6 separate regions of the Homo sapiens genome follow, and all the other regions are linked to region 1. Evidence: promoter capture Hi-C in 16 types of primary human blood cells and fetal thymus (Javierre and others, 2016). All regions are on one chromosome and are shown on one strand. The core of a region is centred on a gene start or on the middle of the fragment in contact, and the rest is flanking DNA. Distances in the headings are between cores, read along the strand shown.

Region 1 (3,372 bases), core at 391-2,890:
TTTGAAATTTCATGTGGAAGTAGCTTATATCATCTATAAATTTAATTCCATTAAATCAAAGTGGGTACTTGTAAATCAATTCCATCATAGGTAATTTTTTTAGTTTAATGTTTACGATTCTTATGGAGAAAGAAGTGTTTTTCATTTACCTTTGCATGGGTGCTTAAAATACACATTTCTATTTCAAGATGACACTGAAAAATTCTTCTAATATAACAGCAGCAAAAATGTAATTCTGCAATTACAAAAGTGCTAAACTGAAATCCATAATTAAGGTTTTCTCATGTTTACAATTGTGGTTCTTTAATCAATACTAATACTATGCAGGTCTGTTGTAAGGTTTCTAGATTCGGTTTAAACACACGCACACAATACTGTCAGTTGTAGGAGGCTTTACAAGTTATATTTCATGCACTTTTTTTTAAAGAGTTCTAAAAGAGCCAACCAGTCCACAAGACAGACAGAAAAAAAGTTAAATTAACTGGAGTAAATTGGACTCTTAACATTCGAAACATGCAAGATTCTGCAGCAAACTGGGAGTACTTCAGGATTGGCCTGCTATCTTCCTTAGTATTAATTTCATCTTAACAGTTTAAGAAGTTGGACATTTTAACACCATCAAGCGCATTTAGGTGACGTGTTTCTTGTGTGTTAACTTGGCTCCCCGGAATGATCTAGTTAGTGAACTAGTCACTAATAATTTGGTCACCAGGCAAATCAAGCCTACACGAAAGGAAGCGACTATTCAAAATACCGTAGTATCATCTGAACCTACCCAAATAATTTATGTTCAACATAAACATGTAACTTCAATAATGAGATGACTCATTAATGAGTCAAGCTCCTCCAACAAGACAAAGACAACATCTCTTCTTCTAAGGTTTAAGTTTTGCATAGAAATCCGGATACATGGAATAGCCCATACCAACAGTCATTGCTCCTACAACAAAGCTGGACTGCCACACGCATGTGGATCAGGTGACGTGATATTTTAGTATTTCCCCTGCTTTTCAATTTGTATAATCCGTATGCAGCAACTACTGCAAAACCTGCCATTCCAATGGGGACAAATGGTGCCTCTTTAGTTTTTCGAATCACTTTGGATCCCTGGAATCCCTCACAAGCCATCCAGCTTCCCCTACGGATATTTTTAGGAATGGCAACAGTGGCCAGAGATCAGAGGATTATATTATTAGGGTTATACAACTTTTATATAAAAAAAGTGGCTTCTGACCAGGCGCGGTGGCTCACGTTTGTAATCCCAACACTTTGGGAGGCCGAGGCAGAAGGATTGCTTGAGCCAGAAGTTCGAGACCAGCCTGGGCAACATAGATCAGAAGGCGAATAGAATAAGTCCGCTAGCTTTGAGATTCACATCTGTTCCTGAGGCTTCCTCACTGCTCCCCACCCTTCCTTCTTCAATCAGTCTAAGAGCTCCTGGAGAAATGGAACACCTGATTCAGTGAGGGTGACAAATAATTATGAGTATGTTCGTGCCAGGGTCCTCGATAGGATGGGGTGGGGGAGGTCAAGCCGCCTTGGCAGCTGGCCAGGCTCCGAACAGCAGATGGCGCTGTAGGGGGAGTCCCACCGGGTACGCCGGGCGCTCTGGCACTAGGGCGCCGGTCGTCTCCTCCGCAGCTTCCGGCACGGCCTTCAAGCGCGGGACGCGACAAAGTCATGGACCGCAACCCCTCGCCGCCGCCGCCGGGTCGCGACAAGGAGGAGGAGGAGGAGGTGGCCGGTGGAGACTGCATAGGGAGCACGGTCTACAGCAAACACTGGCTCTTCGGCGTCCTCAGCGGACTCATCCAGGTGTGGAAACTCGCGCCACGCGTGGGGTGTCCCTACATCCCCCAGGCACCGGGGCTCCGCCTCTGGCGAATCCTCCTGCCCCGGGAGCCGCCATCCCCACAAAGACCCCTCCCCAGGCGTGCGCTGCGGGACCTTGCTCCTTGCGTTTCGCCGGCCGCTGCGGACCCCAAAACTATCTGGGCCCCCTCGGGGTCTCTCGACACAAAGGGAAGTATAATGGTAGGGATGCTGAAATACTTGCCGTTCTATTTTGCTTTCCCAAGTTCTCCAAAAATACATGATCGTGTAACTGCATTCCTCGGGTTTTGCTCCCCATCCCCACTGTCATTTCTGAAGCCCAGGTCCTTAATTTATGTATTTCATGGACTATCGTTGTAATAGAATAAATGGTGACTTTAGGGTTATACAACTTTTATATTAAAAACGTGGCTTCTGACCAGGCGCGGTGGCTCACCTCTGTAATCCCAACACTTTGGGAGGCCGAGGCGGAAGGATCGCTTGAGCCAGGAGTTTGAGACCAGCCTGGGCAACATAGACCTGGTTTCTACAAACTTAAAAAAAAAAAAAAAAAAAAGCCGGTCGTGACGGTGCACGCCTGTAGTCCCAGCGACTCAGGAGGCTGAGGCTGGAGGATCGCTTGAGCCTGAAGTTGGAGGCTGCAGTGAGCTATGATCCAGCTTCTGCACTCCAGGCTGGGGGACGGAGTAAGACCCTGTCTCAAAAAAACAAAAAACGCAGCTTCCTTACCCACTAGCTGCAGGTCACCTAACGGCTCAGAACCTCTATTTGTCCCTTAATTTCTATAAAATGGGATTATAATATTTATATTATATATAAGGTTATTGTGTAGGTTAAGTGAGATTATAATGGCAACAGAGTGCTTAGCATGGTGTTTGGCTTATAGGAGGCTGTCAGTAAATGTGTTTTCTTCCCCCCATGTTTCCCTAATTGGTTCCTCTCCTCCTATTGTCTATCCTCTCCAGTCAATTTTCTACACAGCTGCCAGAATAATCTTCTTTAAAGACAGGGCTATTCATGATACTGCTCTTAGTTCTTTTTGCCTGGGAGAAAAATGCATGTTTCTTGAAGTTTGGAATCCAGGGCTGTTTGTACATTTTCCAGCCTCATCTTCTCATGATACACTGTGTTCCATCAACTCTGAACTGTTCACCATCCCCAAACATGCTAGGCCCTTTCTTAACTCTGAACTCTTGTGCTTTCCTCTGAATACTCACTTCTCTCCTTCTTCACATGACAAACTACTATTCTTCCTTTAAAATTTAGCTTAAATATCAGCACCTAAGGGAAGGTTCCCCATCTTCTCCTAGGAATAGGTCATTGGTCCATCGTTTTTGCTACCAGAACTCTTTGTCCACAATTCAGTTGAATCACTTTGCCTTTTCTAATATGACTATCCCTTTACATGTCTTTCCCCACTAGATCCTAAAAGTTAAAAAAAAAAAAAAGCTTAAATGTAAGGGATTATATCTTACTTGTCTTTGTATATCTACCCCAGTGCCTAGCAACAGTATTTACTTTGTGAATGTTGAAAGAGTA
Region 2 (3,086 bases), core at 60-2,559, 530 kb before region 1:
TAGGTATCATCTTTTGGGAAGAGAAGTTTAGCAGATTCCACGAAATCCTTGGCCAACAGAATAGGTGAGCTAGTTTCAGCTTCTGTTTACTTGTAGCCTTCCAGATTTCAGTCTTTGTTTAAAATCTAGGTCCCATTTGGTCAGTAGATGTTTGTCAGTTCGCTTACAGTCGCAAGAGCGGTGTAAGACTTAAATGGTAAAGTGGTGGAGAGCGCCTGGTTTCTGGGGGTTATGGCTGTTTTGCATAAGCTAATCATTTCCAGATTTTCAGATGGTACCCACAGCACAGCTGTAAACCGATAAGTTGCATGGTGATGCCTGCGGTTTGAGCAGTGAGGTATAGAACTAAAACGGCTCTCAAAGTCAATTCAGCTAGAATTTATTGAGCTCCGACGAAGTGCTCTGCATTTCCTAGATATTCGTATATTGCAATATTCGTTTTTTTCTCTTCTGCAGCTTTTTTTTGTCTTCTGAGGCTAGTTCATTCTTTTATCCCTTTGAAAATATTGATCTGAAAAAGGTCTATATTTATGTTTATAAATATATGTATATATACACACACACAGCCATCCCTTATCCCAAGAACTCTGAATAACCATTCCTCTAAGCCGTGAGTCATAAGCTTTGCATGTTGAAGGTATAGACTCAAACCTTTGAAACCCAGATCAACAGATTTACTTTCTAGAAGCATCTGTAAATTTTCCAGATGAATCAATATTGGGTCTAGTAACCATTCATCTTTGCATAATTTGGTCTGTATTTCATTCTAGATCTTATTGAATTTCAGTAAAGGTCAAAGATAGTACTAGCTTTGATGCCCAGTACTGTTCTGTGGAAGAATCAGAACTAAGTCATTTCTTATTCTGAAAGCCAGTAGCTGCTGGGAGAAAAGCAGACAGATAATCCTAAAGCAGAAAATTTCAAAATATGTGTATATGTCATAATATATGCATTATCTATGATTGGAATAACAGAAGAATCAAAAAGGGGAAAAAAGTAATTTAAAATTTAATAGATGGGCGCAATGGCTCAGGCCTGTAATCCCAGCACTTTGGGAGGCCTAGGCGGGAGAATCACCTGAAGTCAGGAGTTTGAGACCAGCCTGACAAATATGATGAAACCCCATCTCTACTAAAAATACAAAAATTAGCCGGGCATGGTGGTGTGCGCCTGTAATCCCAGCTACTTGGGAGGCTGAGACAGAATTGCTTGAACCCAGGAGGCGGAGATTGCAGTGAGCTGAGATCGTGCGATTGCACTCCAGCCTGGGCAACAAGAGAAAAACTTCATTTCAAAAAAAAAAAAATCAATAGATAATATAGCCATATATTTTATGAATCATGCATTCTCTGACCTCTCCCCGCCAAAGCTAGTAAGCCTAGAAGTTTGATTTAGTTACCAGCATTATAATTCTTATCTTTTTATGTGGAATTAAAGTCACAAAAGAAACTATTGAGGAATAGGATAAGACTGTAGTTAAATTTCTTCTTCTTCTTTTTTTTTTTTTTTAAGATAGAGTCTCACTCTGTCGTCCGGGCTGGAGGCTGGAGTGCAGTGGCATGGTCTCGGCTCACTGCAGCCTCCACCTGCTGAGTTCAAGCAATTCTCCTGTCTCAGCCTCTTGAGTAACTGGGACTACAGGCACCTGTCACCACATCAAGCTAACTTTTGTATTTTTGGTAGAGACAGGGTTTCACCATGTTGGCCAGGCTGGTCTTGAACTCCTTCCTCAAGTCATTCGCCCACCTCGGCTTCCCAAAGTGCTGAAATTACAGGTGTGAGCCACCACACCCGGCCAAATTTCATGCTTTACTTGATTTGCTTTAACTTGATTCATCTAACTGTTCTATTTACTTTTTCCTTATCAGCTTAAAGTAATTTGGACACTTTCAAACATAAGGAATGTTAACACATTTCTAATATACCCAAACCCCGTATTTAGCATATTAACATTTCCCCATATTTATTCCATCTATTTTAAAAGAAATAAAGCTTTTTTTCTTTTTTTGCCATCTATTTTAAAAGAAATAAAGTGTTTGGTGGTTTTTTTTTTTTTTTTGTTATCTATTTTAAAAGAAATAAAGCTTTTTCTTTTCTTTTCTTTTTTTTGAGATGGAGTCTCTGTTGCCCAGGCTGGAGTGCAGTGGCGAAATCTTGGCTCACTGCAAGCTCCGCCTCGCAGGTTCAAGCCATTCTCCTGCCTCAGCCTCCTGAGTAGCTGGGAATACAGGGGTGCACCACCACGCCCAGTTAATTTTTTTGTATTTTTAGTAGAGATAGGGCTGGTATCAAACTCCTGGCCTCAAGTGATCAGCCCACCTCAGCCTCCCAGACTGCTGTGAGTACAGGTGTGAACCACTGAGCCAGGCCTGTCTTGAAATGTTTCTTGACTTCGATGGTAGCTTAAAAGGATACTTGCTTTCTAATAATCTGTTACCCTGTACACTATGTCTATGATTTTCACAATTATTAAAAACAAAGAGAGAGTTGGGGACTATCGTATCAATTAACAGCTTTATTTCTGGCTGGGTGCTGTGGCTCACACCTTTAATCCCAGCACTTTGGGAGGCCAAGGTGGGCAGATCACCTGAGATCAGGAGTTTGAGACCAGCCTGGCCAATGTGGTGAAACCCCGTCTCTACTAAAAATGCAAAAATTAGCCAGGCATGGTGGGGCACACCTGTAATCTCAGCTACTCAGGAGGCTGAGGCAGGAGAATGGCTTGAACTTGAGAGGCGGAGGTTGCAGTAAGACAGAGGTTGCAGTGAGTGGAGATCGTGCCACTGCACTCCAGCCGGGGTGACAGAGCGAGACTCTGTCTCAAATGAAAAGAAAAATAAAATAAAATAAAAAAAGACAGCTACATCCCTCCCTGCCCTATACACACCCTGCTGTTATAAATTTACTTGATTAATTGATCTGAGAACCACAGAGGCTTTGCAATAACTAACTAGGCTGCATCTCTCTCTATTGATTGGTTCATTTTTCCCTGTTCGCCAACTTCTTCTCCCACCTTCATTTGGAACCTATCAGAGCTAATGCTCAGAATTTCAGTCTTCAGAGTTCTTGGGTCAGACCTTTACTAT
Region 3 (3,252 bases), core at 430-2,929, 700 kb before region 1:
TTTACAAAATGGAAAAAAATCCTTAAGTTTGTATGGAACCACAAAAGACCCCAAATAGCCAAAACAATCTTGAGCAAAAAGAACAAGGCTGGGCCAGGTGCAGTGGCTCATGCCTGTAATCCCAGCACTTTGGGAGGCCAAGGCAGGCAGATCACGAGGTCAGGAGTTCAAGACCAGCCTGGCCAACATGGTGAAACCCTGTCTCTACTAAAAATACAAAAATTAGCCAGGTGTGGTGGTGCATGCCTGTAGTCTCAGATACTTGGGAGGCTGAGGCAGGAGAATCACTTGAACCTGGGAGGCAAAGGTTGCAGGGAGGCAAAGGTTGCAGTGAGCCAAGATTGCGCCACTGCACTCCAGCCTGGGCGACAGAGTGAGACTCCATCTCAAAAAAAATAAATTAATTAATTAAAAAAAAAGAACAAGGCTGGAGGCATCACACTTTCTGATTTCGAAACATGTAAAGCAATGCAATCAAAACAGCATTGTACTGGCATACAACAGACACACTGACCAGTAGGACAGGCTAGAAAACCCAGAAATAACCCTTGCATTTACAGTCAACTGATTTTTGACAAGCATGCCAAGAATACACAATGGGGAAAGAACATCTCTTCAATAAATGGTATTAGAAAAACTGCACATCCACACACAGAAGAAAGAAATTAGACCTTTATCTTACACCATACACAAAAATCAACTCAAAATGGGCAAAAGACTTAACTATAAAGCTGAAACTGAAAAGCTACTAGAAGAAAACGTAGGGGGAAAGCTTCATGACAATTTTCTGGGCAAGGATTTCTTGGATAGGATCCCAAGAGCACAAGAAACAAAAAGAAAAATAGGCAAATGAGATGGCATCAAAGTAAAAAACTTCTGCATAGCAAAGGAAACAATTAACAAAAGGAAGAGACAACCCATAGAATGGGAGAAATATTTGCAAACCATACATCTGATAAGGGGTTAATTTATAAAATATGTAAGGAACTCAATTCAAGAGCAAGAAAAAAAATAAATAACCCAATTTTTAAATGGGCAAAGCGCCTGAACAGATATTTCTCAAAAAAAAAAAAAAAAAAAGACATGTGAGTGACCAATAGGTACATGAAAAAAGGTCAGTATCACTAATCATTAGGCAAATGCAAATTAAAGCCACAATGAACTATCCCCCATACCTGTTAGAATGGCTTTTATCAAAGAGATAAGATATCAAGTGTTAGAGAGGATTCAGAGAAAAATGGAACTCTTATATACTGTTGATGGGAATGTAAATTAGTACAGCTGTTATGAAAAACAGTATGGAGTTTTCTCCAAGTATTACAAATAGAAATACTATAGGACTCGGTAATCTCCTTTCTGGGTATATATTAATAAGAAGCTGAAATTACACTTTGGGAGGCTGAGGTGGCCAGATCACCTGAGGTCAGGTGCTCGAGACCAGCCTGGCCAATACGGCGAAACCCTGTCTCTACTAAATATACAAAAAAATTAGCCTGGTGTGGTGGTGGGTGCCTGTAAGCCCAGCTACTCGGGAGGCTGAGGGAAAAGAATCACTTGAACCCAGGAGTCAGAGGTTGCAGTGAGCTGAGATTGCTCCACTGCACTCCAAGCTGGGTGACAGAGCAGGACTCCGTCTCAAAAAAAGAAACTGAAATCAGTATGTTGAAGGGGTATCTCCACTCTCACATTCATTGTAGCATTATTCACAATGGCTAAGGTAGGAGAACGATCTAAGTTTCCATCAACAGATAAAGAGAAATATGGTGTACATATTCAATGGACTACTATTCAGCCTTTAAAATGGGGGAAATATTGTCATTTGCAACAACATGGATTAATCTGGAAGACATTGTGGTAAGTGAAAAAGCCAGGCACAGAAAGACAAATACCTCACGATTTCCTTATAAGTGAAATGTAAATATGTGAATTCATAGAAGTAGACAGTAGAATAATGGTTACCAGATGCTGAGGAAGAGGGGAGGGAGGAAATGAACAGTTGCTGATGAAAGAGTACCAAGACCCAGATTACATAAGAGGAAAGGATTTTGAGATCTATTGCACAGAAGGCTGACTATAATCAATAACAATGTATTATATAATATATTTCATAATAAGTACATTTCAAATGTCTCACCTTAAAAAATGATAGGCAAGAAAGGTGATTGATATGTTAATTAGCTTAATTTATTAATGCCACATTGTATACCTATATTAAAACTTCACATTTTACATCATAAATGTATACAATTATGGTTTGTCAATCTAACATAGTATTAATAATTTAAATTTTTTAATGTCAGGTCTATCTAATTCTGAAGCCCATGTTTTTTCCACCATACCATCATTTCTGTATTTAATAAAATGTTTGTTTCATTTTCAAATCATTAAATCATAGAATGTGTTCCTGATTCTTCCCCTTCCCTGTCCTCCTTTCCCCATTCCCTTACAGGCTTCCCCTGAGAGCACTCCTTAGTAAATCACATGCACATGAATCCCCACCTCAGATTCTGCTTCTGGAGAACGTGGCCTGAAATTACAAAAGTGATCTCAATTTCAACATGGGCACAAAGTTTAAGTGAAGCTTAAATTGAAGTAATGATCATTTGAAAGTTATGTTCTGGACCAGGGATTCCCAATCCTCCCTGTGACTGAAATCACATGGTACAGTTTTTAAAATGCCATTTCCCAGGTCCTGTCCTAGATCTCCTTAACCAAAATTCCAGAAGTCTGACTTAGGAGTCTCCTCTTTTATTTAAGTTATAATATTTCTGATGATGGAAGTTTTGGAACCCATTGGTTTAGACAACTCAGTTGTATTGGATGGTTTAGACATACCCGTATATGAACTTGTGGGTGGGATATGCAAAATGAAATTTTGAGGTTCCTGCCAATATTACAAGTCTATGGTTCAGTTAACAATTTATCACAAATCAATATCTCTTAATTGAAAAAGTGATCTTGATTTTAAACCAGGCATAGCATGATCATTTATTACAAATGTAATTTAATGTGACTTTCTGAAATTCTGACATGAAAATTTTTGAATACGGTACTTGTTTAATTGATTACATTTTATAAAATGGTAACAATTCTTTTTATTACTAAGGTAAACATGTTACTATATTAGTCAGAATAGACTAGGTTACACTCTTACAACAGTTGGAGTAGACTAGGTTACACTGTTGCAACAAATGATACCAAAATCTCAGTGATTTAACACAGTAGAGGTTAAACTCCTGTTCATACAAAGTT
Region 4 (3,135 bases), core at 53-2,552, 900 kb after region 1:
GGTTGGGGGAAAGATAGGAGTTGGAAGGGGGGGGGGTGTACAACAGCCAGTAGCTACAGCCGTAAGAAATAATCACATTTGTTTCTAGAATTCCCCATAGAATAGAAACTCCATCCAATTTTACCATCCCTGCGGAGGTGCAGGCATGTTTATTACAGCGCTATGAGGGATTCATCCACTCCACATTCCCCATTGCCCTAGCCCCCTTTCGCCAACCCCCGTCCCTGCCAAATCAGGCCAATTTCTTTCTTTCCAGTTATTTGCTGAAAGTTCAACTTCTCTTAGAGCCTTCTAATTATGCGTATATCATATAGGCTGATAATTTTTAGTTTAGGCTGAGAAATGCAGCCTAAATCAGTCTGCCACATCAGATTGTGAACGTCTGGATGGTGTGGACCCCCTTCTCCTACTGCTTAAAAGACAATCTTGTTGTAAAACGCTATGGAATCGTTCCTCTCCCCTTAACATCTTTGTGCCCCAGAAGCCCCATCTGTAAATGGGGATAATTTTCCTATATCTTCCCATGGTTACGTAATTTTTAGATCTAACACGTGAGGACCAAACGCTTTACAAGCATAATCTCATTAAATTCTCAATAAGAATATATTATTATGGAGGTTGCATGTGAAAATACTTTGTAATGTAGAAAGAGCCGTCTGGCTGTGAGTTATTATCAGGGGGTTATCTTCCTTACCTGGCTGTTGTGAGGATGAAACGAGACGCCGACCTGAAAGCGTTTTACGTGCTATCAAGCATTTTACAGAAACCACGTGATAGGCTACTAATTACCCACCGTATACCACCTGACCCACCGTGAGGCCTCGGTAAATACTGGTTGGAGTGGACGAGTTTAAGTCTTGCCTGTTCCTTTCAGTCTTCCAATCACAAAGTAATCTCGGCGCCGCCAGGGGCCAAGACACAAATCTGGGAACCTCAGCCTAGATGGAGGAGGGTGCGGGGTCCCGGGAGAGGGGATGAGAACAATAGGGTACTTCAGTGCCCGGGCCCTGTTTAGCGGGTCTTCGGACTCAGGGCCCGAGGGGCGGCCAGCTGGGGTGTCCGGAGAGCTCCCCTCCCCAGGTCTGGGGTGTGCACGGAGAGGCGTCCAGAGCCTGCTCAGCATTCCTCGGGAGAGAGCCAGACCCTGGTCCCCCGGGCCCGTGCGCCCCAGCGCCCCAGCTCCCTTGCTCACGCCACCCCGGCAGCGTCCAAGCCCCGCCCGCCAGCTCAGGTAGGCCGTCCGCGCCAGCCAATTCGCAACAAGTCCGGGCGGGGAAGGCGGTGCTTCCCTGTCCGGAAGTGACGTGCTGCGCTTGGCTGGCTGTGGAGTCGGCCGAAGCTTTCGGCGGCGGCTGAGCCAGCTGAGGGGAAAAATGGCTCGGACTGTGGCGGCTTCGGCGGCTCAGGTTGTGGTAGAGGCGGAGGCTCAGGCAGCTTGAGGTGAGGAGCGGTCGGTGCGGCTGGGGACGATATTCGGGGTCCTGCTCTGCAAGGGTGGAGAGGGGCCCCGGGGTTCCCGGGCTGGAAGGGTCTCTTGTCGCGGCCCCCAGTGCCTTGGGTGCCCGCGTCTGACCCTCCATCCCGTGCTCTTGGCGTTGCCCAGCCCGACTCCCCCCTCCCTCCGGGCCTTGCTTCCACCCAGGCCGTGAGCAAGTGCTGCGCTGGAGGTGCGAGGAGCCCGCGTCCCCACCAGGCCCCTCTTCTCGGGAGCGGAGGTGCGCCAGGGAGTTAGTTTTGTCCCACAGAAGGAGGGCAGGCCCCCCGGCCGCCGGCCCCCCTCCCCCGCCTTGTCCCGCGGGACCGGGCTGGAGCCGCAGTGGCCGGTCCTATTTTCTTGGCAGATTGTTAGTTCTGGCGAGTGTGTGTGTTGTACTTCTCAGTGACGGCCCCTTCTTTCACCTCCTGTCCCATCTCTGGCTCTGGGGGCCAAGGATACTTTTTCTTCTTCCCGGACCCCCCACTCCCACCGCGTTGCCTTTAGCCGCGAATCCACTTGCTTTGGGAACACTATTCTTTCAGTGTGTATTTAGCGCATCATCCTTCTGAGAGAGCGGTCAGATTAAAAAATACTAGCTTAACTCTTCCTGAGTGACGGAGGAATCATAAATAATTGAAGAAAAAGGCACATACTTATTTTCCTCACTGAATTTCTGGCTTTAAAAACGACATTCTCTAGCTGTGGAATTATTTTTTGGGGGAGGAGGGATTGAGGAGGGAAATGAGGAAGGAGAAACTAAGGAAAAAAGTCTGGACATAACGTGGAAGAGAGAGCCTGTTGTAGTTCTTTTCCTATACTGGCCCGATAGAAATTGAGGTTATAATTATATTCTTATTTTGAACAGTGGGGGTTTGAATTAAGTGAAACGAAGGAGGCCTGCCTCTTTGAACAAGATTAGTTATTAAAGAATGTCCTGAAATCTTTCCTGGTGGGTTTCAGGCAGAAAAGCTCTGTTGGGAAAATTTTTAAATCTATTGTAGCATCAAAGGCCACAGCATATAAGAGATGCAAGAAGAAGAAAGCTGTTTGTAGGGGAACGGTGAAGACATAGTAGAAAGAGGGAAGGCTGCACAGAAGTCCAGGAACTAATTCCAGGAGAGACTTTGTACCTTTGCCTCCTTGGCTTGTGGTTCAAGTCTCCACAAGAGACTCCTTTAGCAGCTCTGCCATAGTTGGGGTTGGTGCTCTTTTTTTTTTTTTTAATTGACATGGGGTCTCACTGTGTCGCCCAGGCTGGTCTACCATGCCCAGCAGAATGGTGCTTTTTTTTTTTTTAAATTTGATCTAACCTTATCTGGACAGGATGGTGCTCTTATTCACAGCAGCAAATTAGACGAAAGGACCCTAGTTGAAGTATACAGATTTTATTTTTATATAAGATATTTGTTTAGTATCAAGACAGTGGTTACATACTGAAAAACAATGTAACTGGGAATAGAGAGATTTTATTTGTTAACTCAGATTTAGTTCAAAAGTGATTTTACGTAGGTAGAAAGCACATATGGAGTTTCTTCCATAAATTCCGTAATTTTGGCTGAATTAATACATTCTAAAGTAGGTTTTTTCTTATCAAAGTGTCTTGCTATTTGTGTTTTATATGCGTGTTTCCTGCAGTTTTCTTTGCAAATAACATGTTT
Region 5 (3,137 bases), core at 81-2,580, 650 kb before region 1:
ATTAATTGAGTTCATGGACGTAAAGTGCTTATTACAGAGTGCTCTATAAATGATAGCTAATAGTGACGGTGATGGTTGTTCCAGGATATGGAATGTGAACAGAAAAAAAACCTTTTTTTCCTTTGTGTTTTTTCTTTCTTTGTGTTCCTGTGCCTGGGGCTCGGGCGTCAGGTCCAGGCCAGTTCTACAGCAGTGGAGTGGGGTAGTGTATCTGGTGGTCCTTTCTTGACTCCCCACCACAGGTCTGAGACCTCACTGAACCAGCACAGCCACAGGCAGGAGTGTTTTATGCTTACATATTTAAGGGGCCAGGGTTGGTGGGGAGAATGATCCTCCGTTTTCCTTCACCAGGATAGAAACAGTTCTCATATTCTAGGGAGTTGCCTGGATGTGTGATGACACTTAAAGAGAGTCTTTGCAACTGAAAGAAGGAATGCATCTGGTCCAGTCCCCTGCATCTTCAAAGGTTGATGCCAATGCCCTTTTAGACAAATGGACATCCATCGTACTCCTAACATATGCAGTGACAGATGCCATTACCTTTCTCTTTGGTCTGGCTCAGGGACAAATCACCCCAGCTCTCAGGAATTCTTTATATCTGAAGAAAAAAAAAAAAAACTCATCCTTCCATTGAAGCTCATTTCTTCATTTCAGATCTCAGCATCTGTTTTGGTTGTCTGTTGCTGCCTGACGATCTCAACACTTAGTGGCTTCAAACAACAACCATTTTATTTGCTCATGACTTGGAGGGTCATGCAGGGTTTAGCTGGGTGATTCTTCCATTCCATGTGGCATCAGCTGAGGTCACTCATTCAGCTGAACACACCTCATTCTGTGCTGGGATAGAATGTCGGAGAAAGCTTTTATTATATGTCTGGCACCTCAGTGCTCCTACCTTGGGCTTCCTCACAGCATGATGGTCTCATGGTAGTTGGACTTCTTATGTGATTACCAAGAAGGAGCACTCTAAGAGGGGCAAAAAAGAAGCTTCAGATCTCTTAAGGCCCAGCTCCAGAAGTTACACAATGTCACTCCACTACATTTTGTTGATCAAAGCCAGTCACAGGGTCAGCCTAGATCCAAGGGATGGGAAGTAAATGCCACCTCTTGATAGGAGGAGTGCAGAGAATCTGTGGCCATCCTTCATCCACCAGCACATCCTCTTTATAAGCTTTCACATTCCTCCTAACACTAGCTTCATCCTCTCCTAAAGCTTCCTCCCCTTGGCCTTCATCCCATGTCTCATTCTTTTCCCCAACCTTCCACTATTTGAGCTACTGACCCTTTGTTGCTTAAATCTTCGGCTCTTTTGCTCTTCTCTTTTCTTTGGCTCTCCTCCCTGCTACTTCAAAGAGCACAGCTGTGTGCAGTCCCACCCCTAACATTTGTAAGGCTGTATATGTTATGTCTAGATAGCTAACTGTTCGAAAGCAAGCTGATAAGCTTTGAAAGGAAATATGTTGTCCTTCCACTCTGACGAATATTCATTTGTAGGGAGTTTAAAAGCCAGGTTCAAATAGAGAATTCTGAGTTCTGCACCAAAATATGGGGTCTAGGGAAAGCCAGTCTCCAGTCCACCCCTGCTCTGTCCAGCACCACAAGGACACTCATGAGCACTTGGGTAGATGGGTACCCCAGCCCACACATCTGAGCTCCAAACACACCTTCTGCAAACAGTCACCTTAGCCAGTTCTAGGAATACACACAGCACAGTGTACTCTCATGAAGCAGTCAAAAAAGAGGGCCACCAGGTCCAGGAATCAGGCTGAGGAGCATTTGACCAGGGAATCTGGGGTTTTGAATATGTGGCCTTACAGGGAGAATGTCCCTTTGGTTCCCTGGACTCCTTACCTGTGAGGAGGAGCATACCTGATGGAGGATTGGAGCAGGGCCCTTCAAAGTGTGAGATCAGGATGAGGGACATTTTCCTGGGTGTAAAGACAGTGCTGAGTGTGTCTGCCCTTGTATTGGGCATTGCCTTTCACTGATGGGCTTGGACAAACCCTGCACTGCTCCATCCCTCCCATGAGGCATTTCCACTGTGAAATGAGAAAAGCAATTTTTTTCATGGTAGTTATAAGAATTCAGTGAGACAATGGATGGGAATGGGGATTTGTAAACCATAAAGTCTTATTCACAGCTCATTTTTTTATGGTTTCTTATTGTCGGATTCAGAAGCCCTGGATGTGAATGAATTTGGACTCCGCCCTTTTTGAGCTTGGATCTTGCATGAATCACTTTACATCTCTAAACTTTGGAATTTCACACACACACATATGAAAATGATGTGTGGGACAGGTGGGGATGTTTATTAGGACCTTGGTGCTGTTTCTTTTTGTTTTGTTTTTGTTTTTTGGTTTTTTTTTTTTTTTGATGGAGTCTTGCTCTGTCACTCAGGCTGGAGTGCAGTGGCACGATCTTGGCTCACTGCAGCCTCCACCTCCCGGGTTTAAGCAATTCTCCTGCCTCAGCCTCCCGAGTAGCTGGGATTACAGGCATACGCCACCAAACCCGGCTAATTTTTTTTTTATTTTTAGTAGAGACGGGGTTTCACCGTGTTAGCCGGGGTGGTCTCGATCTCCTGACCTCATGATCCGCCCGCCTCGGCCTCCCAAAGTGCTGGGATTACAGGCGTGAGCCACCGCGCCCGGCCGGTGCTGTTTCTTTTTAATTCCAAGTGGTTAAAACCTGAAGGATGGGCTGGGTGCAGTGGCTCAGCCTATAATCCCAGCATTTTGGGAGGCTGAGACGGGTGGGTCACATGAGGTCAGGAGTTCAAGACCAGCCTGGCCAACATGGTAAAACCCTGTCTCTACTGAAAATACAAAAACTAGCCAGGCATGATGGCTTGTGCCTGTAATCCCAGCTACTCAGGAGGCTAAGGCACAAGAATCACTTGAACCCGGGAAGCAGAGGTTACAGTGAGCAGAGATCATGCCACTGCACTCCAGCTTGGGTGACGGAGTGAGAATCTGTCTCAAAAAAAAAAAAAAAAAAAAGTGAAGGATGTAAGGGACCAAGAAGAGTTATCAGCAAAGAGGGAACTAGGCTGTCTGAACCAGACATAAGCCAGATGTCAGCTGGGGTAATGTTGCCTTTTAAAATACAGATGAGAAGCCTGCCCAGAATTTCCCATT
Region 6 (3,241 bases), core at 545-3,044, 670 kb before region 1:
CACCATGCTCCGCTCACATATTATTTTTTGGTGAGATGGGATCTCACTGTTTTTCCCAAGCTGGTCTCGAACTCATGGCCCCAAGTGATCCTCTTGCCTTGGCCTCCTAAAATGCTGGAATTACAGGTGTGAGCCACCATGCCTGGCCTACATTATTCTTTTTTTAATTCCTGCATAATAATCTCATTTACTTCATCTTGCTCCCAGTGATACAGCAGTTCAGGTCCAGTAAAGAGAAAGTTAAGAACCGGTTTACCAGCACTCCGCAAGATTCATCCCAGAGTCTTCATGGACCTTATCCGTGGGAGGAGAAAAGTTATATTAACTGGGAAACAGGCAAAGCCTGAAACACAAGATGATGACAGTTAACATTTTTAGGAGCTTCCTGGCCCTGATCTACACATTTTCCATGCATCTCATGTAAAAACTTTGTGTGAAGATCAACATTCATTTAATCTCCATTATAACCCTCTGGAGTGTAGACACATTTATCCTTGCTTCACAGATGAAGAAACTGAGGCACAGAGAAGTCAAAATCTTGCCCAAGATCAGGCAGCCAGTGGGGGAGCCTTGATTCATACTGGGGGAGTCCAGAGCCAAAGCCTATGTGTTTACTACTTTTATGGTGTTGTTTGTTTGTTTGTTTGTTTTGAGATGGAGTCTCATTCTGTCGCCCAGGCTGGAGTGCTGTGGCACAATCTTGGCTCACTGCAACTTCCGCCTCTCTGGTTCAAGTGATTCTCCTGCCTCAGCCTCCCAAGTAGCTGGGATTACAGGCGCCCGCCACCACGCCCGGCTAATTTTGTATTTTTAGTAGAGACAGGGTTTCACCATGTTAGTCAGGCTGGTCTCAAACTTCTTACATCAGGTGATCTGCCCACCTCGGCCTCCCAAAGTTCTGGGATTACAGGCATGAGCCACCGTGCCTGGCCCTTTATGGTGTTTTTAATGAGCCATTTGTAAATGCTCAAACATTACCCCACTTTTCATTTTTTTTAACATTTGCCTGGTGCCAGATACAGTATTGGACATGGGAAGCAGAAAAGTCCATATCAGATGCTGTAAACCTAGTGATTTAAATAAAGCCTGGGGTTGAGATAAACTGAGTTTGAAGCCTGGTTCTGCAACATACCAACTATATGACCTTGAGCAGGTGACTTAGTGTCTCCAAGTCCCAATCTCCACGTGTAGGTGGAGGATGACTTTTTACCTCATATGGTTCTAGTGAGAGGTGAATGATGTCATACGTGTGCAGTGCTTGGCACGACATCCAGCACACAATAAGCCTGCAATAAAAGGAAGCTGCGGTAATCACAGACCACAGGTTTATGTCCAGGGAGCTCTGTGTGAGGCTGGGAGACTGGCATCAACAGATAATGACCGTATGGAGGGGTAAGAACAGAAGACGGAGTACCCAGTTCTTCCTAAGGGAGTTGGGGAGGGTTCTATTGAGGAGGTGACATTTGAACAGAGTCTTAAAAGGCAAATAAGAATTTTCCAAGCAGAGAAGGGAAAAGGGGGCTTTCCAGTGGAGGAAAAAGTGCATCCTAAAGCATTATAGGTAGGAGCAAGCATGTAACTGAACGGAAATACCAGAAGACGCCCACAAGAAGTGTGATCACACCTTTGCATTTGTGATTGCCTGTTTTCTCCCGGTAAATTAAACTGCATACCTGGGGGCAGGTGCAGGGAGAGGGAGCAGAATGCAATGTTTTCAGAGTCTTGGAGAACAGAGGATCAGACCGGATAACCTTTGAACTCCAAAATCCTGCCTTTCTATCTTTTGGGTCCGTGACCGCCGCACCATTTATAATCAGGTAGGACCATCCACAGCATCAAATCACAGCTGAACCTGGACTCTCTTAATAATTGGCTCAGGCCGGACATGCTTGCAGGTTGGGCTCCATGGACCAAGGCCTGTTTCCCTGATGCTGTGAGCGCCCTCTGCTGGTTCACTGCCGTTCCACCCTCTGCCTCGTTAAACCTGACAGGCCTGGAATTGAAGCCTGACCTCTAAGGAAAGGCCCTTAGAGGTCATCTCATTCAGGCCCTTTGGTTTTCATTTGGAGCTACTGAGATTCAGATAAGGGAAATGACTAGCCCAAGGTCACACAGTAGCCTGGGACTAGAGCCCATGGCTTCTGGGCCCTGGGCCAGTGAGTGTATTCGTCATGGCACTGATGGAACACAGCTGCCACCAACACAGGCTCCCCACCCAAGCCAGCCTCCCAAACTCCCCATGCAAGCTAGCCTCCCAAGGCCTGCTTCCTGGGCTGTTGCTTCAAGTGGAGAAACCCGAGGTCGTGGTCCCGCGCAGGACTTCCAGTCGTTCTTCTGGGGAGAACAGCAGTGATCCCAAGCAAGGACACAGGCACAGGGATCTCCCTCTTGCTCCTTCACTCGTTTGCTTGGGTCACTTCACCCCCTGAGCCTTAGTTTTCTCGTCTGTAAAAATGGTGATCATCACATGCTACTCACATAGATTTATGGTGAGGATTTTTTAAAAGAACATATAGAAAGCAACTGCCATGATATGCTGTCTCTTCCTATTGTATTTGCGGAATATTTTTTCTTACCAAAAGCTAAAAAGTGAAAGAGAGGTTAGGAATGTGGGCAATGGGGGAAGTTCTGTGATAACTAGCTGTGTGGCCTTAGGCAGGTCACTTTACTTCTCTGAATTTCCATTTCCGCCTTTAGAAAATGCAGGAAACGTTAGTACGTTCCTCCAGGGGCTGCTGTGAGGACTGAGTTTGCTAACACCTGCCCTGGAGCAGTTCCTGGCCTGTGTGGTCCGGGTGCAGTAGTGACAGCTGCCCTTTCTGTTGTGAAGATACTGTCATTGTTATCCTCTTCGGTCGGGAGCTAAGATGTTACTGAACAGGTGGTCCGAAGATTGCTTCTGCCCTTTTTCCTGCTTCCTTTCTCTCTCAGATCACCTCCTCCTGTTCCCTTCCATCCTCACCAACCTGACCATGAAATTTTAAAAGTGTAGATTTTAAAAGAAAGCCAAAGTGGCCCTGAGAAGAGGCTGGGAGGGTCCACAGAGTCTGAGCTGAATCACTGTGAATTTCTGACCCTCCACCCCAAAGATGTATTTAGGACAGAATGTGTTGGCTTCAATCATGAGCCCCTGGTCTCTCTCAATGCTGCCTATGCAGCTAGCCCCTGCTACTTTGGTCCCAGCAGGGTGGCCAAAGCCAGCAAAGAATCTGTGTGTGTTTTTCCTGCTCCCATCCCACCC

Evidence for each region. Contacts are between HindIII fragments. The CHiCAGO score rates a contact against its expected background, and 5 or more counts as called.
Region 2: a fragment that was not itself captured here is called in contact with the fragment with the promoter of SAAL1 in region 1 in 1 of 17 cell types (total B cells); the score reaches 7.8 in total B cells.
Region 3: a contact is called between a fragment that was not itself captured here and the fragment with the promoter of SAAL1 in region 1, in 3 of 17 cell types (total CD4 T cells, non-activated CD4 T cells and total CD8 T cells). The highest score is 8.1, in total CD4 T cells.
Region 4: the fragment with the promoter of PIK3C2A here is called in contact with the fragment with the promoter of SAAL1 in region 1 in 5 of 17 cell types (total B cells, total CD8 T cells, fetal thymus and 2 more); the score reaches 15.8 in total B cells.
Region 5: a contact is called between a fragment that was not itself captured here and the fragment with the promoter of SAAL1 in region 1, in 10 of 17 cell types (naive CD4 T cells, total B cells, naive B cells and 7 more). The highest score is 13.6, in naive CD4 T cells.
Region 6: a fragment that was not itself captured here is called in contact with the fragment with the promoter of SAAL1 in region 1 in 5 of 17 cell types (naive CD8 T cells, activated CD4 T cells, total CD4 T cells and 2 more); the score reaches 8.1 in naive CD8 T cells.

The regions. Positions count from the first base shown.
Region 1 is chr11:18,104,350-18,107,721 of GRCh38, reverse strand. SAAL1 (serum amyloid A like 1) reads left to right here and starts at 1,640. Exons shown (of 12, transcript NM_138421.3): 1 at 1,640-1,815. The coding sequence starts at 1,681. It also overlaps the pseudogene HIGD1AP5. RefSeq lists enhancers at 1,435-1,484, 1,635-1,894. The HindIII fragment of the contact is 5,763 bases long and covers 1-3,284 here.
Region 2 is chr11:18,630,576-18,633,661 of GRCh38, reverse strand. The region is part of intron 1 of SPTY2D1 (SPT2 chromatin protein domain containing 1); the gene reads left to right. Among named protein-coding and RNA genes, the nearest start is that of SPTY2D1, 2.2 kb to the left of the region's middle. RefSeq lists a silencer at 156-335. The HindIII fragment of the contact is 1,370 bases long and covers 625-1,994 here.
Region 3 is chr11:18,804,843-18,808,094 of GRCh38, reverse strand. No RefSeq gene overlaps it. Among named protein-coding and RNA genes, the nearest start is that of PTPN5, 15 kb to the right of the region's middle. The HindIII fragment of the contact is 1,809 bases long and covers 775-2,583 here.
Region 4 is chr11:17,206,153-17,209,287 of GRCh38, reverse strand. PIK3C2A (phosphatidylinositol-4-phosphate 3-kinase catalytic subunit type 2 alpha) reads left to right here and starts at 1,302. Exons shown (of 33, transcript NM_002645.4): 1 at 1,302-1,440. RefSeq lists silencers at 1,154-1,233, 1,584-1,843 and enhancers at 1,374-1,483, 989-1,511, 1,512-2,035. The HindIII fragment of the contact is 7,601 bases long and covers 1-1,341 here.
Region 5 is chr11:18,756,157-18,759,293 of GRCh38, reverse strand. The region is part of intron 3 of PTPN5 (protein tyrosine phosphatase non-receptor type 5); the gene reads left to right. Among named protein-coding and RNA genes, the nearest start is that of IGSF22, 32 kb to the right of the region's middle. The HindIII fragment of the contact is 230 bases long and covers 1,216-1,445 here.
Region 6 is chr11:18,774,571-18,777,811 of GRCh38, reverse strand. The region is part of intron 1 of PTPN5 (protein tyrosine phosphatase non-receptor type 5); the gene reads left to right. Among named protein-coding and RNA genes, the nearest start is that of PTPN5, 16 kb to the left of the region's middle. RefSeq lists an enhancer at 1,836-2,130. The HindIII fragment of the contact is 8,027 bases long and covers 1-3,241 here.